5 separate regions of the Homo sapiens genome follow, and all the other regions are linked to region 1. The links are contacts of gene promoters, found by promoter capture Hi-C in human tissues and cell types (Jung and others, 2019). All regions are on one chromosome and are shown on one strand. Each heading gives the region's core, a stretch centred on a gene start or on the middle of the fragment in contact. The rest is flanking DNA. Distances are from core to core; before and after follow the strand shown. Region 1 holds the start of PYGM (glycogen phosphorylase, muscle associated). Region 2 has its middle 8.5 kb from the start of MIR1237. Region 3 has its middle 8.0 kb from the start of CDCA5. Region 4 overlaps VPS51 (VPS51 subunit of GARP complex). Region 5 holds the start of SYVN1 (synoviolin 1).

Evidence for each region. Contacts are between HindIII fragments. The study calls those that stand out against the background at their distance.
Region 2: a fragment that was not itself captured here is called in contact with the fragment with the promoter of PYGM in region 1 in 2 of the 25 tissues and cell types used here (dorsolateral prefrontal cortex and thymus).
Region 3: a contact is called between a fragment that was not itself captured here and the fragment with the promoter of PYGM in region 1, in 1 of the 25 tissues and cell types used here (spleen).
Region 4: a fragment that was not itself captured here is called in contact with the fragment with the promoter of PYGM in region 1 in 2 of the 25 tissues and cell types used here (H1 embryonic stem cells and spleen).
Region 5: a contact is called between the fragment with the promoter of SYVN1 here and the fragment with the promoter of PYGM in region 1, in 1 of the 25 tissues and cell types used here (spleen).

Annotation. Positions count from the first base shown.
Region 1 is chr11:64,758,691-64,761,390 of GRCh38, forward strand. It overlaps PYGM (glycogen phosphorylase, muscle associated), which reads right to left and starts at 1,284. Exons shown (of 20, transcript NM_005609.4): 1 at 966-1,284; 2 at 1-14. The coding sequence starts at 1,208. RefSeq lists enhancers at 1-693, 694-1,398, 1,399-2,101. The HindIII fragment of the contact is 11,504 bases long and covers 1-2,700 here.
Region 2 is chr11:64,375,732-64,378,431 of GRCh38, forward strand. No RefSeq gene overlaps it. Among named protein-coding and RNA genes, the nearest start is that of MIR1237, 8.5 kb to the left of the region's middle. The HindIII fragment of the contact is 8,669 bases long and covers 1-2,700 here.
Region 3 is chr11:65,074,723-65,077,422 of GRCh38, forward strand. It overlaps a transcript of CDCA5 not described here. Among named protein-coding and RNA genes, the nearest start is that of CDCA5, 8.0 kb to the right of the region's middle. The HindIII fragment of the contact is 9,601 bases long and covers 1-2,700 here.
Region 4 is chr11:65,098,517-65,101,216 of GRCh38, forward strand. The region is part of intron 2 of VPS51 (VPS51 subunit of GARP complex); the gene reads left to right. Among named protein-coding and RNA genes, the nearest start is that of VPS51, 3.7 kb to the left of the region's middle. The HindIII fragment of the contact is 4,540 bases long and covers 1-2,700 here.
Region 5 is chr11:65,133,198-65,135,897 of GRCh38, forward strand. SYVN1 (synoviolin 1) reads right to left here and starts at 1,322. Exons shown (of 16, transcript NM_172230.3): 1 at 1,259-1,322; 2 at 273-421; 3 at 1-55. The coding sequence starts at 404. RefSeq lists silencers at 1-101, 1,818-2,001 and enhancers at 703-772, 1,061-1,964, 1,323-1,832. The HindIII fragment of the contact is 5,976 bases long and covers 1-2,700 here.

The DNA.
Region 1 (2,700 bases), core at 34-2,533:
AGGTAGTAGATCCTCTGCCCAGAGAGACGGATGGGCAGGGAATGGGGTCAGGGCCACACACCAACACTCAGCCAGGCCCAGCCACGCCTGGACCTCTGGCCCGCCTGCCCTGCTCAGCAGTCCCATCCCTGTCCCCAATTTGTTTCTCCCTGTCTCAGGCTTTGGGGCCCAGCGGTTAAGGTTCTGGTCCCAGCATTCCTCTGACTTTGGACAAATCACTCTCTTTGGCCTCAGTCTCCTCATCTGGGAAATAGCGCTGGCCATACCCACTTCAGGGACTGAGGTACTCGGGAGAATGGGCACCCCTTCCCCCTGCACACACCCCCAGAGAAAAAAGTCATTTGCTCAAGGTCACACAGTGGCTAGAGACTGGGCTAGAGACTGTCACCTCCCATCCTTGCACTGTCCAGTTCCCCTTGGCCCTCAAGCCTCAATCCCAAGGAGACCCAGAGGCACCAGAAACTAGGATGCTGCCAGTGCCTGGTCTCCCAGTTTCCTGGGTCCCCTCCTGGGCCGTCTGCCCGCCCCTCCCCCACTCCCCACCGAGGCGTGTCAGGTTGCTGACATTTACCAGTGACCCCACCGGACACTTGATCTCTGCCGCCCCAGCTGCCCCAGCCCCGCCTGCTGCACAGGCACACCGCGCATACATGCAGCAACTGATGTGTCCTTCCACCTGGGCCCAGCCAGGCCACAGGCGCCGTCCTGCCCACCAGCACCCACTCCAACCTTCTCCGAGTGGGCACTGACCCTTTGCAGCCAGCCCACCTGCTCTGAGCTCCCTGACCCCCACTCCTGCCCCAGGTTTCTCCCTCAGATTGTCCCAGCACCCCTTGTGCCTGGCACCCCTGGATTCTCCACCCCCAAGAACCTAGAGTGACGAGGGGCAGCCACTTAAGTCAAGATCGCCAGCTCCCTGGCAGCGCCTTCAGCCCATACCCCCACCCCAGGCTCCCCAGCAGCACCTTGGGGTCCTTCTCATAGTAGTGCTGCTGCGTGCGGATCCAGCGCCCCACGAGGTGGTCGCGCACGGTATGGGCCAGAGCAAAGTAGTAGTCTCGTGGGGTGGCCACATTGCGGTCCTTTACGAGTGTGAAATGCAGGTGCCGGTTGAAGTTCTTTTTCAGCTCAGTCACGTTCTCCACGCCGGCCAGGCCACGCACACTGATTTGCTTTCTTTTCTCTTGGTCTGACAGGGGCCGGGACATGGCTGCAGGAGGGCGGGCCGGACTGGACTGATGGTAGAGGGGACGGCGGCCTCAGCACTGCCTCCAGCCAAGGAGTGGAGCTCCCCAGCCTCAAGGGGATTTAAAGCCTGGCTCTGGGCAGCACGCCCCGCCTCCCCTGCAATGGGAGGGTCTTGGCCTGGCAGCTCAGGGAGCTATTTTGAGGGCAAGGGGAGGAGAGGAGAGGGGAGGGAGAGGTGAGCTCCACTTGGGCCGCCAAGACTGGCCTGGCTTGTTCACAGGCCTGTGCTGACCCACTTCCTCCAGGCCTTGCACATGGTCTTCTGTCCCTTGTCCCTGCCTTTTGGAGGGTTGGATACAAGAAGGAGCAGGCAGAGTGCTGGATTGGGGAGCTGTCTGTCAGTGGCTGAACCAGGATGGGAGGCCATGTGTTGTGGCAAAAGGAACCAGGACCCCCTGCAGGCTGTGGTGCAGGAGCCAAGTCAGTGTCCCCTGACGGAAGAGGTGCAACTAGCAGAGGCCACTGGATGTCTTTGAGAAAGGGGCCCACGACCCTGCATTGCAGGGGTGGTGTGAGGGAGGTTGTGTGAGGCAGGGCCACAGCCCTCACTCCACCCCCACCGAAGCTGAGCAGCTCTAGGCTCCCCCTGTTGCTGTCCCTCAAGGAGCCCTGAAGTGACCTTTTGGAGAGGGATGCTCAGGTTACTGGCCAGCATTGGCGGGAGGCCGCTAGCCTGCAGCACGGGGCCCTGGGAACTGTAGTCCTATAGGCCCTCGGCGGTGGGAGAAACTGAGGCATTCCCCACTCCATCATCATACTGGTTTAATGACAGTAAGTTCTCCCTGTGATTCCACTGCTTAGGAAGTGATTAGAGGCCTTCTTTCACTTCTTCCTGCCACCTGGGGCCACACTCTGAGCAGGATTTTGTAAACCAGCTCTGTGACCTGGCCTATAAAATGGGTGCCTAATCTGTACCTCGAGGACCTCACCCCATTTGTGTGCATAGCCCCACAGCTTTGAGCCCTTCCCTGGAGGCTTTGGCTATCCTCCCATTCACTGCTGTGTTCTGGCCCCAGCACTGACTTGCTGTGTGACCTCAAGCTGGTTGCTTTACCTTTCTGAGCTTTGGATTCCTTCACCAAATTTAGACTCTCCAATGAGAAAAAAAAAAATCCCTGCCTCTCAGCTGCTGCCTCCTCATCTTGTGAGGGCAGGCTTCGGATCCTGCTGTTCTTTAAGAGAAAGGAACCAGGACCTTGTGCTAGTTCAAAGGCTGTTTGGGCCTCCCGGGTGGTGGGCCGGTGGAGGGGAAGAGCTGGGTGTTCTGTTCTGAAGGCCAAGGAAGCAGGTCAAAAGCCTGGACAGCTGCAGGATACTATTGAGAGCCTGGTTCGGAGAAAGCCAAGCTGTTTCTGAGAACTTTTTTTTTTTTTTTTTTGAGGTAGAGTTTCATTCTTGTCGCCCAGGCTAGAGTGCAATGGCATGATCTCAGCTCACTGCAACCTCCGCCTC
Region 2 (2,700 bases), core at 184-2,683, 380 kb before region 1:
TCCCTAAGGTACTTTGGGAGTGTAAACAAAAATATTCCATATGAACGTAGAGATTGCAAACTGGCCTGTGCCTGGCCTATAGAAACTCATTTTTGGGGCCAGCACTTTTTTTTTTTTTTTTTGAGACAGTGTTTTATTCTGTCGCCTACCCTTGAGTGTAGTGGTGCAATCTCGGCTCACTACAGCCTCAACCTTCTGGGCCCAAGTGATCCTCCCACCTCAGCCACCCAAGTAGCTGGGATTACAGGCATGCGCCACCATGCCTGGCTAATTTTTGTATTTTTGTAGAGATGGGGTTTCGCCAAGTTGCCCAGGCAGGTCTTGAACTCCTGAGCTCAAGTGATCTGCTTCCCAAAGTGTTGGGACTGCACGCATTAGCCACCGCACCTGGCCTAAGCACACGCTGTAAAATGAGGAAAAGCATATGGAATCCTAGATGTGAGGCTTTTGCTGATGAGCTGGAAGGGCTGGCCCTGGGGCAGTCTTCCTGCATGGTCTAATCAGCTGGAGCAGAATCACGCTGCCGCCACAGACAGGGCCTCTGCTTTCCAGGTTGCCGCAGTCCCCACCACTCCCTGTGGTTACACCAGCTCTGTCCTGCATTCATCCCTCTGGCCCTCTAGGCATTTGAGTTTGTGACTCTGATATAAACAGTCTCCTTCCACGGTCACTGCTGCACAAAAATGGGCTTTGTGAAATGTCAAAGATACCCCTTAAATCTTTTATTTTTGGCCAGGTGCGGTGGCTCATCCCTGTAATTCCATCACTTGGGGAGGCCGAGGCGGGTAGATCACTTGAGGTCAGGAGTTCGAGACCAACCCAGCCATGGCAAAACCCCGTCTCTACTAAAAATATAAAAATTAGCCGGGTGTGGTGGCGCAGGCCTGTAATCCCAGCTACCTGGGAGGCTGAGGGAGGGGAGTCGCTTGAACCCGGGAGGTGGAGGTTGCAGTGAGCTGAGATGGCGCCACTGCACTCCAGCCTGGGCGACAGAGCGAGATTCCATCTCAAAAAAAAAAAAATCTTTTATTTTGTTTTAAAACTTAAATTTAGTTTCTATTTGTATTTGTGAAAGACGATAAATTTGGCCGAGTGGGGTGGCTCTCTCCTATAATCCCAGCACTGTGGGAGGCCAAGGAGGGAGAATCCCTTGAGCTCAGGAGTTCCAGACTAACCTGGACACCATAGTGAGATGAGAGCTTGTCTCAAAAAAAAAAAATATATATATATATAATTCATATGATTCAAAATTCAAAGGATCCATAAAAGTACATAGTGAAAAATGTTCTTCCACATGCTGACCCTCTGCCACGTACCTTCTGTTGTTGCCAGAGGAAGCTAATGTGTTCTTGTGTAGTTTTCCAGGAATATTTATGTGTAGTCGAACAACTATATAATAATATGCATGTATAAGTAAAAATTCATATTAATTAAATGTTAATTTTAGAAAAAATCAGTAAGAGGCTGGGCACGATGGCTCACGCCTGTAATCCCAGCACTTTGGGAGGCCGAGGTGGGCGGATCAAGAGGTCAGGAGATCGAGATCATCCTGGCAAACACGGTGAAACCCTGTCTCTACTAAAAATACAAAAAATTAGCTGGGTGTGGTGGCGGGCTCCTGTAGTCCCAGCTACTCAGGAGGTTGAGGCAGGAGAATGGCGTGAACCTGGGAGGCGGAGCTTGCAGTGAGCAGAGATTGCGCCACTGCACTCTAACCTGGGCAACAGAGCGAGACTCCGTCTCAAAAAAAAAAAAAAAGAAAAAATCAGTAAATGCAAAGGAGATTTCAAAAAATCACTCGTGGCATTACTCTCCATAGATAAACTGTGTTAGTTAATATTTTGATGCATTCAATTCTTTTTTTTTTTTTTTTTTTTTGAGACAGATTCTTGCTGTGACACCCAGGCTGGAGTACAGTGGCGGTATCTCAGCTCACTGCAACCTCCCACTCCTAAGTTCGAGTGATTCTCCTGTCTCAGCCTCCCAGGTAGCTGGGATTACAGGTGCGCAACATCCCACCAGGCTAATTTTTGTATTATTAGTAGAGACGGGGTTTTACCACGTTGGCCAGGCTGGTCTCGAACTCCTGACCTCAGGTGATCCACCCGTGTTGGCCTCCCAAAGTGCCACTTACAGGCATGAGCCACTTCGCCTGGTCTGATGCATTCACTTCTAAGTTTTTCTTTGTTTTTTTTCTTTTTGAGGCAGGGTCTCACTCTGTCACCCAGGCGGGAGTGCAGTGACATGATCATAGTTCATTGCAGCTTCAACCTCCTGGGCTGAAGCAATTCTCACACCTCATTTTTTGATTTTGTTGTTGTTTTTTGTAGAGATGGAGTCTCACTATGTTGTCCAGGCTGGTCTCGAACTCCTGGGCTCAAGCAAGCCTCCCACCTCGGACTCCCAAAGTTTTGGGATTACAGGTGTGAGCCACCATGCCCGGCCTAGAATTTTCTTTATTGATACAGATTTTTAGTTAAAATGGCATCAAAATGTAAATAGGTTATTATAGCCTGTCTAAAGTCAAAAATAGATTGTGAATATCTTTCTATGTCAATGACTATATTTTACAATTATTCTTTGTAGCTGTAGGGTGCTTCATTATATGGGTATGCAATGATTTATTTAGATTGTTTCTATTTTTGGCTACAGCTCCTTGCTATTTTAAACAGTGCTGCAGTGAACATCCTTGTACCTACG
Region 3 (2,700 bases), core at 13-2,512, 320 kb after region 1:
AGCCAGACCTTGTCTCAAAAAAAAAAAAAAAAAAAAAAAAAAATTGGCAGGGGTTTTGGCTGGGCATGGTGGCTCACACCTCTAATCCCAGCACTTTAGGAGGCCAAGGAGGGTGGATCACCTGAGGTCGGGAGTTCAAGACCAGTCTGACCAACATGGAGAAACCCCGTCTCTTACTAAAAATACAAAATTAGCTGGGCGTGGTGGCACATGCCTGTAATTCCAGCTACTCAGGAGGCTGAGGCAGGAGAATCGCTTGAACTCGGGAGGTGGAGGTTGTGGTGAGCCGAGATCGTGCCATTGCACTCCAGCCTGGGTGACAAGAGTGAAACTCCGTCTCAAAAAAAAAAAAAAAAAAAAGGGTTTTAAGGAGGGGAGAAATAGGCCCGGCGTGCCAGCCACGGTGATTCACGCCTATAACCCCAGCACTTTGGGAGGCTGAGTTGGGCGGACCACCTGAGGTCAGAAATTAGAGACCAGCTTGGCCAACATAACGAAACCCCGTCTCTACTAAAAATAGAAAAATTAGCCGGGTGTGGCAGTGGGCACCTGTAATCCTAGCTACTTGGGAGGCTGAGGCAGGAGAATCACTTGAACCCAGGAGGTGGAGGTTGCAGTCAGCCGAGATTGCACCACTGCACTCTAGCCTGGGCAACAAAAGTGAAACTCCATCTCAAAAATAAAAATAAAAAATTAAGGAGGGGAGAAACAGGATCATATTGTGTGTTTTAGGAAATGTGTTCTAGCTGCAGTGCAGACAGTGTGGAGATACAGCAGCCCAAGGGAATGACCCACAGGAGGCTAGTGCAATTGTCTAGTGGCTGTGGGGTGGGGGGGATGTTGAGGGGGATGGGGCTGGCCACATGGGGTGAAGGAAGAAGGAGCTGGTCCTGGGTTCCTGGCCCGTGTGACTGTGTCAGCTGGTGGCTCTGCTAATGGCACAGAGAACACAGGAGTAGGCAAGCTGCTGGATGAGCAGAGCTTCAGATGACTTCCTGAAAGGCAGTTCTAGATTCTGATTTGTAGCTCAGGACAGTTTTAGGTTGGAGATAAAGATGGACAAGTCTTGAGCAAGGAGGCAGTCCAGAGAGCGAGGCTACCCGGCAAGAGCAGGCAGGTGGGAAAGAGGGTCCAGGACTGAGGCCTGGTATCCAGACATTTCAGGAAAAGCCAAGAAAAAGGAGCTGGCAGTGCCACAGCCCCAAAGAGGGTGTCCTGGCAGAGGCCCGAGCTTAGTATGTTGGATATTAGGACATCACTGGTTACCTTTGTCTGAGCTGTTAAAGAGAGTGACGAGGGCATTGGGAATAAATTCAAAGTAAAGAGCAACTTGGAACGTTCCTTCAAGCTTAAAATGGTGGTAGCTAACGACAGATGCTGGTCGACTTTTGGTTGTCTTTTTTGTCTTTTGAAACAGGGTCTTTACTCTGTTGCCCAGACTGGAGTGCAATGGCGTCACCATGGCTCACTGTAGCCCCGACCTCCCAGGCTCAGGTGATCCTCCCACCTCAGCCTCCTGAGTAGCTGGACTGCAGATATGTGCCACCACGCCCATTTATTTTTTTTACATTTTTTGTAGTCAGGATCTCCCTATGTTGCCCAGGCTGGTCTTGAACTCCTGAGCTCAAGTGATCCTCCTGCCTCAGCTTCCCAAAGTGCTGGGATTACAGGTGTCAGCCACTGTGCCCAGCCTGGTTGTCATTTTTTAACAACAAAGCAAATAAAAGCCATTTAGGACTTGGAAGAAAAAGAAGAGGAAGGTTTCAGAGACAAGATAATTGGATCAAAAACCAAAGTGGAAAGGCTAGCCTTGAAGAGGGGACCCATCTCCTCTGGGTGGGGGAAGGAGGTCAAAGCGGATTAAGTCTGTGGAGAACTTAATGGCTTTGATTTGTTTGGATGACTAGGAGGCAAGTACAAGTGTGGAGGATGGGATGGGAGGCTGGTCTGTGCCACCTGCCTGTAGGGTCCTAGCCTTACCTAAGGCCAAGTGGGAGAATTTCCAGGCATCAGCATCTTTGATCAGCTCCCCAGGGTCCCACAGCACCTGCTGCTACACAGTGTCCAGTCTGGACCATGGAGTGAGCAACTCGGGCTCCTTCAAAGGAGCCTGAAAGGGAATGGGGAACGAGGGCTGGACTCGGGAGGGTGTTTGCTTCCCAGGCATCTCCCGTGGGCACTGGGGGAGCTCTTAGCACTCTCACCCCAGACCCGACTTTCTTCCTCCTAGAAGAGGAGCAGACTGGGGACTGGACAGAAATAAACAAGACACGGGGCAGGACAGGCCAGGCGCAGTGGCTCACGCCTGTAATCCCAACACTTTGGGAGGCCGAGGAGGGCAGATCACTTGAGGTCAGAGTTCAAGACCAGCCTGGCCAACATGGTGAAACCTCATCTCTAATAAAAATATAAAAATTAGCCAGGCGTGGTGGTGGGCACCTGTAACCCCAGCTACTTGGGAGGCTGAGGCAGGAGAATCGCTTGAACCTGGGAGGCAGAGGTTGCAGTCAACTGAGATCACGCCACTGGACTCCAGCCTGGGAGACAGAGCTAGACTCTGTCTCAAAGAAAAAAAAAAGTGTGTGGGGCACAGTGATCTACCATGGGGCGAATGCGGGGAAGCGGGGCTGGGAGCGCCTGGACAAAGGGACAACCCCAGTGATGCAGCCCACTGGAGGCCTGGCCTTACCTTCGGCTCTG
Region 4 (2,700 bases), core at 134-2,633, 340 kb after region 1:
TAAGTCCAGGAGCCAGATCCAAAGGGTTTACCTGCAGCCTGTGGAATGTTCTGGGAGCATCTGTGGGGTTGCATTCTGATGTCTTACTCTCGTGTCACAGTGGTGGGTGTGGTAACCTATACACATTGTTCTTTTATCTGATTTGAAGCAGATTCCATGAGTAGGCACCTTTCTGTTAGCTAATACCAGCATCAAAATGGCAAGAAATCATAGTTTCTGTGCTGGGATATTTCTCACAGGAATTTAATAAGATTACATTTTCCATTTGTTGGAATGTGTATAATAATATTTTGAGACTTAGCTCTTTTTGTACATCCCACAAAAGGAACAAACGTTTGGAAAAGTGTGAGGATAACCAGGAGCATTGATGTCTTAGAAGCTTAAGTGAGGGGCCGGGCATGGGGTTCTCACCCGTGATCCCAGCACTTTGGGAGGCTGAGGTGGGTGGATCACTTGAGGCTAGGAGTTCAAGACCAGCCTGGCCAACATGGTGAAACCCTGTCTCTACTAAAAATACAAAAATTAGCTGGGCAAGGTGGTGCATGCCTGTAGTCCAAGCTACTCATGAGGCTGAGGCAGGAGAATTGCTTGAACCCAGGAGGTGGAGGTTGCGTGAGGAAGGTGTTTCAAGACATAGATTTGATAGACTTGGGCGAGACACTCAGGAAAGTAATGTAGCATGGAGTGTGTGTTGATTGGGCAAGAGAGAGAGAAAAATGAGAAAGGAACTAGGTCCTCAGGAAGGAGGGGGGTGGAACAGAGCAGGGATGGAGGCATCGGCCTCAGCAAAGGGCCGGGAGCTCATCTATGGTAGCAGGAGGGGAAGCAGAATGTGGGCAGAGCCAGGCAGATAGTAGATGTGCAGTTTAACTAGAAACCTTCCAGAATGTATTAGGGATTTGGCTTTTATCCACAGAGAGCTAAAACAAATGAGTGATGTGCTCAGATTTCTGGTTTGAATAGATTCCTCCAGCTGCACTGGCAGGAATGGATGGGGCTGAGCACAGTGGCTCATGCCTGTAATCCCTGCACTTTGGAAGGCTGAGGTGGGAGGATCACTTGAGCCCAGGAGTTTGAGACCAGCCTGTGCAACATAGTGAGACCCGATATCTAGAAAAAAAAAAATAGCTGGGTATGGTGGCACACACTTGTTAGAATAAACCCAGCTACTTGGGGAGGCTAAGGTGGGTGGATCACATGAGCCCAGGAGCTGGAGATTGCAGTGAGCTATAATCTCACCATTGCACTCTAGCCTGGGTGACAGAGCAAGACCTAGTCTCAAAAAATAAATAAATAAATAAAAAGGCCAGGTGCGGTGGCTTATGCCTATAATCTTAGCACTCTGAGAGGCCGAGACGGGTGGATCATCTGAGGTCAGGCATTTGAGACCAGGCTGGCCAATATGGTGAAACCCCATCTCTACTAAAAATACAAAAATTAGTCAGGCATGGTGGCAGGCATCTGTAGTCCCAGCTACTCAGGAGGCTGAGGCAGGAGAATCGCTTGAACCCAGGAGGCGGAGGTTGCAGTGAGTCGAGATCGCGCCACTGCACTCCAGCCTGGGCAACAGAGCGAGACTCCGTCTCAAAAATAATAATAATAATAAATAATAATAAAAGGACAGCCCACAGAATGGGAGAAAATATTTGCAAGTTAGTTATCTAATAAAAATCTAGTGTTCAGAACATAAAAAGAACGTTTTTTAGCTCAGGGCTAAAAAGACAAATAACCCTAATTTAAAATGGGCAAAGGATTTGAATAGACACTTCTCCAGAGAAAACATACAAGTGGCCGAAAAGCACATATAAATATGCTCAGCATCATTAGGTCTTAGGGAAATGCAAATCCAAACCACAAAATGCTGCACCCAGTGTGGAAGACAGTTTGACCATTCTTCAAAACCACACACAAGATTACCATATGATCGGCAATTTTACTCCTAGGAATATACCAAAGAGAATTGAAAACATGTTCACATAAAAACATGTACACAAGTGTTCATAGCAGTGTTTTTTTTTTTTTTTTTTTTTTTGAGATGGAGTCTAGCTCTGTCACCCAGGCTAGAGTGCAGTGGTGCCATCTTGGCTCACTGTAACCTCCGCCTCCCCAGTTCAAGCGATTCTCCTGCCTCAGCCTCCTGAGTAGCTGGGATTATAGGTGTGCACCATCACACCCGCCTAATTTTTTTATTTTTATTTTTTGTATATTTACTAGAGACGGGATTCCACCTTGTTGGCCAGGCTGGTCTTGAACTCCTGACCTCAAGTGATCCGCTTGCCTCGGCTTCCCAAAGTACTGGGATTACAGGCAAGAGCCACCATGCCTGGCCAATAGCAGCACTTTTTATAATAGCCACAAGGTGGAAGCAATCCAAATGGCCATCAATTGAATGAATATAAACAAATATCCACACAGTGGAATATTATTCAGCCATAAAAATAGATATAACATACTGACACAGGCTACAACATAGATTAACCTTGGAAACATGCTAATGTTTCATATGCCTATGATTCCATTTCTGTTAAATGTATTCTGTAGCGAATAGACAAATCCATAGAGACAGAAACTAGATTAATGGTTGCCAAGTTCTAGGAGTGGGGGAATAAGGAATGACTGCCAAGGGTTACAGGGTTTCTTTAGGGGATGATGAAATGTTCTGGAATTACGTAGTGAGGTTGGTTGTACAACCTTGTGAAT
Region 5 (2,700 bases), core at 72-2,571, 370 kb after region 1:
TGCCCATCACCTTGCCCAGAAGGAAGACAAGGACAAAGGCCTGGATGTACAGGACCTAGGAGTGGGGAGAGGCTGTGGTTTGAGGTCACTTTCTGCTTTCCTCTCCTTGGGACTCATCATGCAGGATCCTCCACATCCTCATCACAGTTTATTCAAAGTTAGGCAGCTGGCGGCTACTTCCCTACTTACCTGACCTCTAGCCCCGCCCCTTGCCCAGGCAGACTCCTCCTTCCCTCCCAGGGAGTTCCTCCCTCCCTGAGCCCTGAACTCACTGCCATGCTGGGGCTGGACTTGGTCAGGTACACCACAGTGGGGTAGAACTGGTGTTTGAGGTAGTAGGCGTGAGCCACCACAGCCCCGGTCAGCGCCAGGCTGGCCGCCATCATCACTGCCGTGCGGAACATTGCCCTGGCCCGGAGACCTGCATGGGGCAAGAAAATAACTTATGTGATGCTCGTGCTGTGCAAAATAGCCCGGTGCCTGGCACAGCCTCAATTCATAGGAGAAAGTGGGGGGGAAATCACATTTCGCCCTCGAAATCATCAGACAAAGAATAGCTTACGCTACCCCATTTTACAAATTAGACTCGAAGGGGTTAAGTGATCACACTGACGCAAGGCCTGGAACCTGGGTCAGTCTTGCTTCAAATCTAGGGCTCTTTCCACGCTGCCTGCCAAGCCGCCTCCTCTAGGGAGGTGATGAGGAAAAGCTGCAATGTTGGAGGAGGGGGAGCTGCACCGCTGACCCTCCGGTGGAGAAGATGGGGTGGGAGGCAACAGCAGAAATCTGCTCCAGGGGCGGGAATGCGCAGCCAGGGCTGAGAGCAGCCAAGGCACAGAGGATAGCAGGCTGGGCAGGCGACAGCGCCGGTGACAGCTGTGTTAGGGTGGGCAGTTCGGACGCCCGCCCTGCGGGAGCGGGCGGGGAACGTCAGCCTGGAATCCTGGGGTCCCCCGACCCCCGGAGTAGTGTCAACTCAGAGCACCACAAAAACAGCGGGACGGGAGAGAGCAGCAGCGGGACGGGAGGAGCCGGGTCGCCCTCGCGGCCGCGCACCTGTGAGCACCAGGAGTTGCGGGCGTCGCAGGCAGGGCCCAGGCTTGAGCAAAGCGGCCGCACCGGCGTCTGAGGTCTCCGGCCAGCTGACAGGCCGAAAGCGTGCGGCGGGGCTGAGGGGCGTGCCGACTCCGGAGACCTCAAGGGGAAGGTTCGGGTCCCGACCCCAACCACAACTCGGGCCAGACTTCGCCCCACTCACCAGGAACCCAGCGCCGCGAGCCCGCTCAATCCGCGCGACTGCGGCTGCCCCTCCGGTTAACAACACTCCCCACCCCCTGCGAACCGGAACTTCGGGGGTCAGACACCTCACTTCCGGCGGCGCGGGGCGCGGCGTGGGTCGTACCAAGTGCGTCCTGCCCTGGCTCGCACTGCGCCCTACGTGGGCCCATAGCAATGGTGTCACCACCGTATCTGGGGTGATGTCTACGGGGAAGGGCTGGGCAAGAGGTCCGAGAGGTGGTCGGAAGGTAATAAGGCAACAGGGGGGAGTCGGAGGTCCCCCTATTATTTATTAGTCACAGATGGTATGGCTCCTGCGCTGAGTGGCCTCCTCGGACTGGGGGACTCGGCCCCGCGAGCAGCTGGGAAGGGGAGCCGCTTGCGGGCTGTACCACCTGGAGCGGGGAGTAGGCCAGGGACAGACTATACAAGCCTGAGGGGAATGAAATGTTTTCTTAAACATTTAGGGAGAGTCACAACAGTTTGACAAATACGGTGCTCTCTGAGAGAACTGGATGCGGAAAACAAAAATTTGTCTTCTCCATGATCACCCCCACAAGTTGTGTGGGAGTGAGTTGGGTCCCGTGGCTGCCACTGATTGGTTGCGATAAGTTACGCGGCCCAATAAGAAAAAGAATGTACCTTTGCTGGCCTATAGAAAGGGGAAAGCAGGTGAGTGGTTGTTAGGGGCGGACAGCTGCGTTGCCTAGGCCCTGGTCCCGCTCCAGTTGGCTGAGAGTAGGGAAAGCTCAGTCCTTGGGCGAGTGATCCCTGGCTGGCCTCCGGGAACGTTTGCCGCGCCAGGACAGGGAGGGACAACCAGGTGTACCCGAGACTGGGAGATTAATTCCTGCTAATCTTGGGACGGAAGTGTTCTGTTTGTTCAAAGGAATTGACTTCAGCGTCGCAGGCCTGCCCGCATCTCAGTGTCTGATTTTGCTGCCCATGTGTTGTTCAGCTCTGAGCCATAAGCAAGACCCCCACTGGTCCTGGGCTGCACTGTATTTTAGTTCGTGTCTGGGTCGCAGCCAACTAAGCCTGCTGATTAACAAAATGGAGCTAATGCATCCACTTTGTGCCTTGCGTTTTCCTCCGTCATCTCATTTAATCATCAATCACTAAGGTTTATGAGCTAGGGGGTGCTACCCCCTCCCCCGAAACGTGGGGCAATTGAAATTCAAAGGCTTACCAAAACCTGTCCTAGGATTGGCGCCAGGTCTGTCTGCCTCTAAATCTCTGTGCTGTTGGTCTCAGCCATCTTCCCTGCCACCTGTTGACTTGACAGTTTCAGCTTATAACCAGTCAGAGTTGGCTTCCCCGTAAGGCCACGTATAACTTTTTTTCCCCCTTTTCTTTTTATTTATTTATTTATTAATTTTTGCGACAGGGTCTTGCTCTGTCGCCCAGGCTGGAGTGCATTGG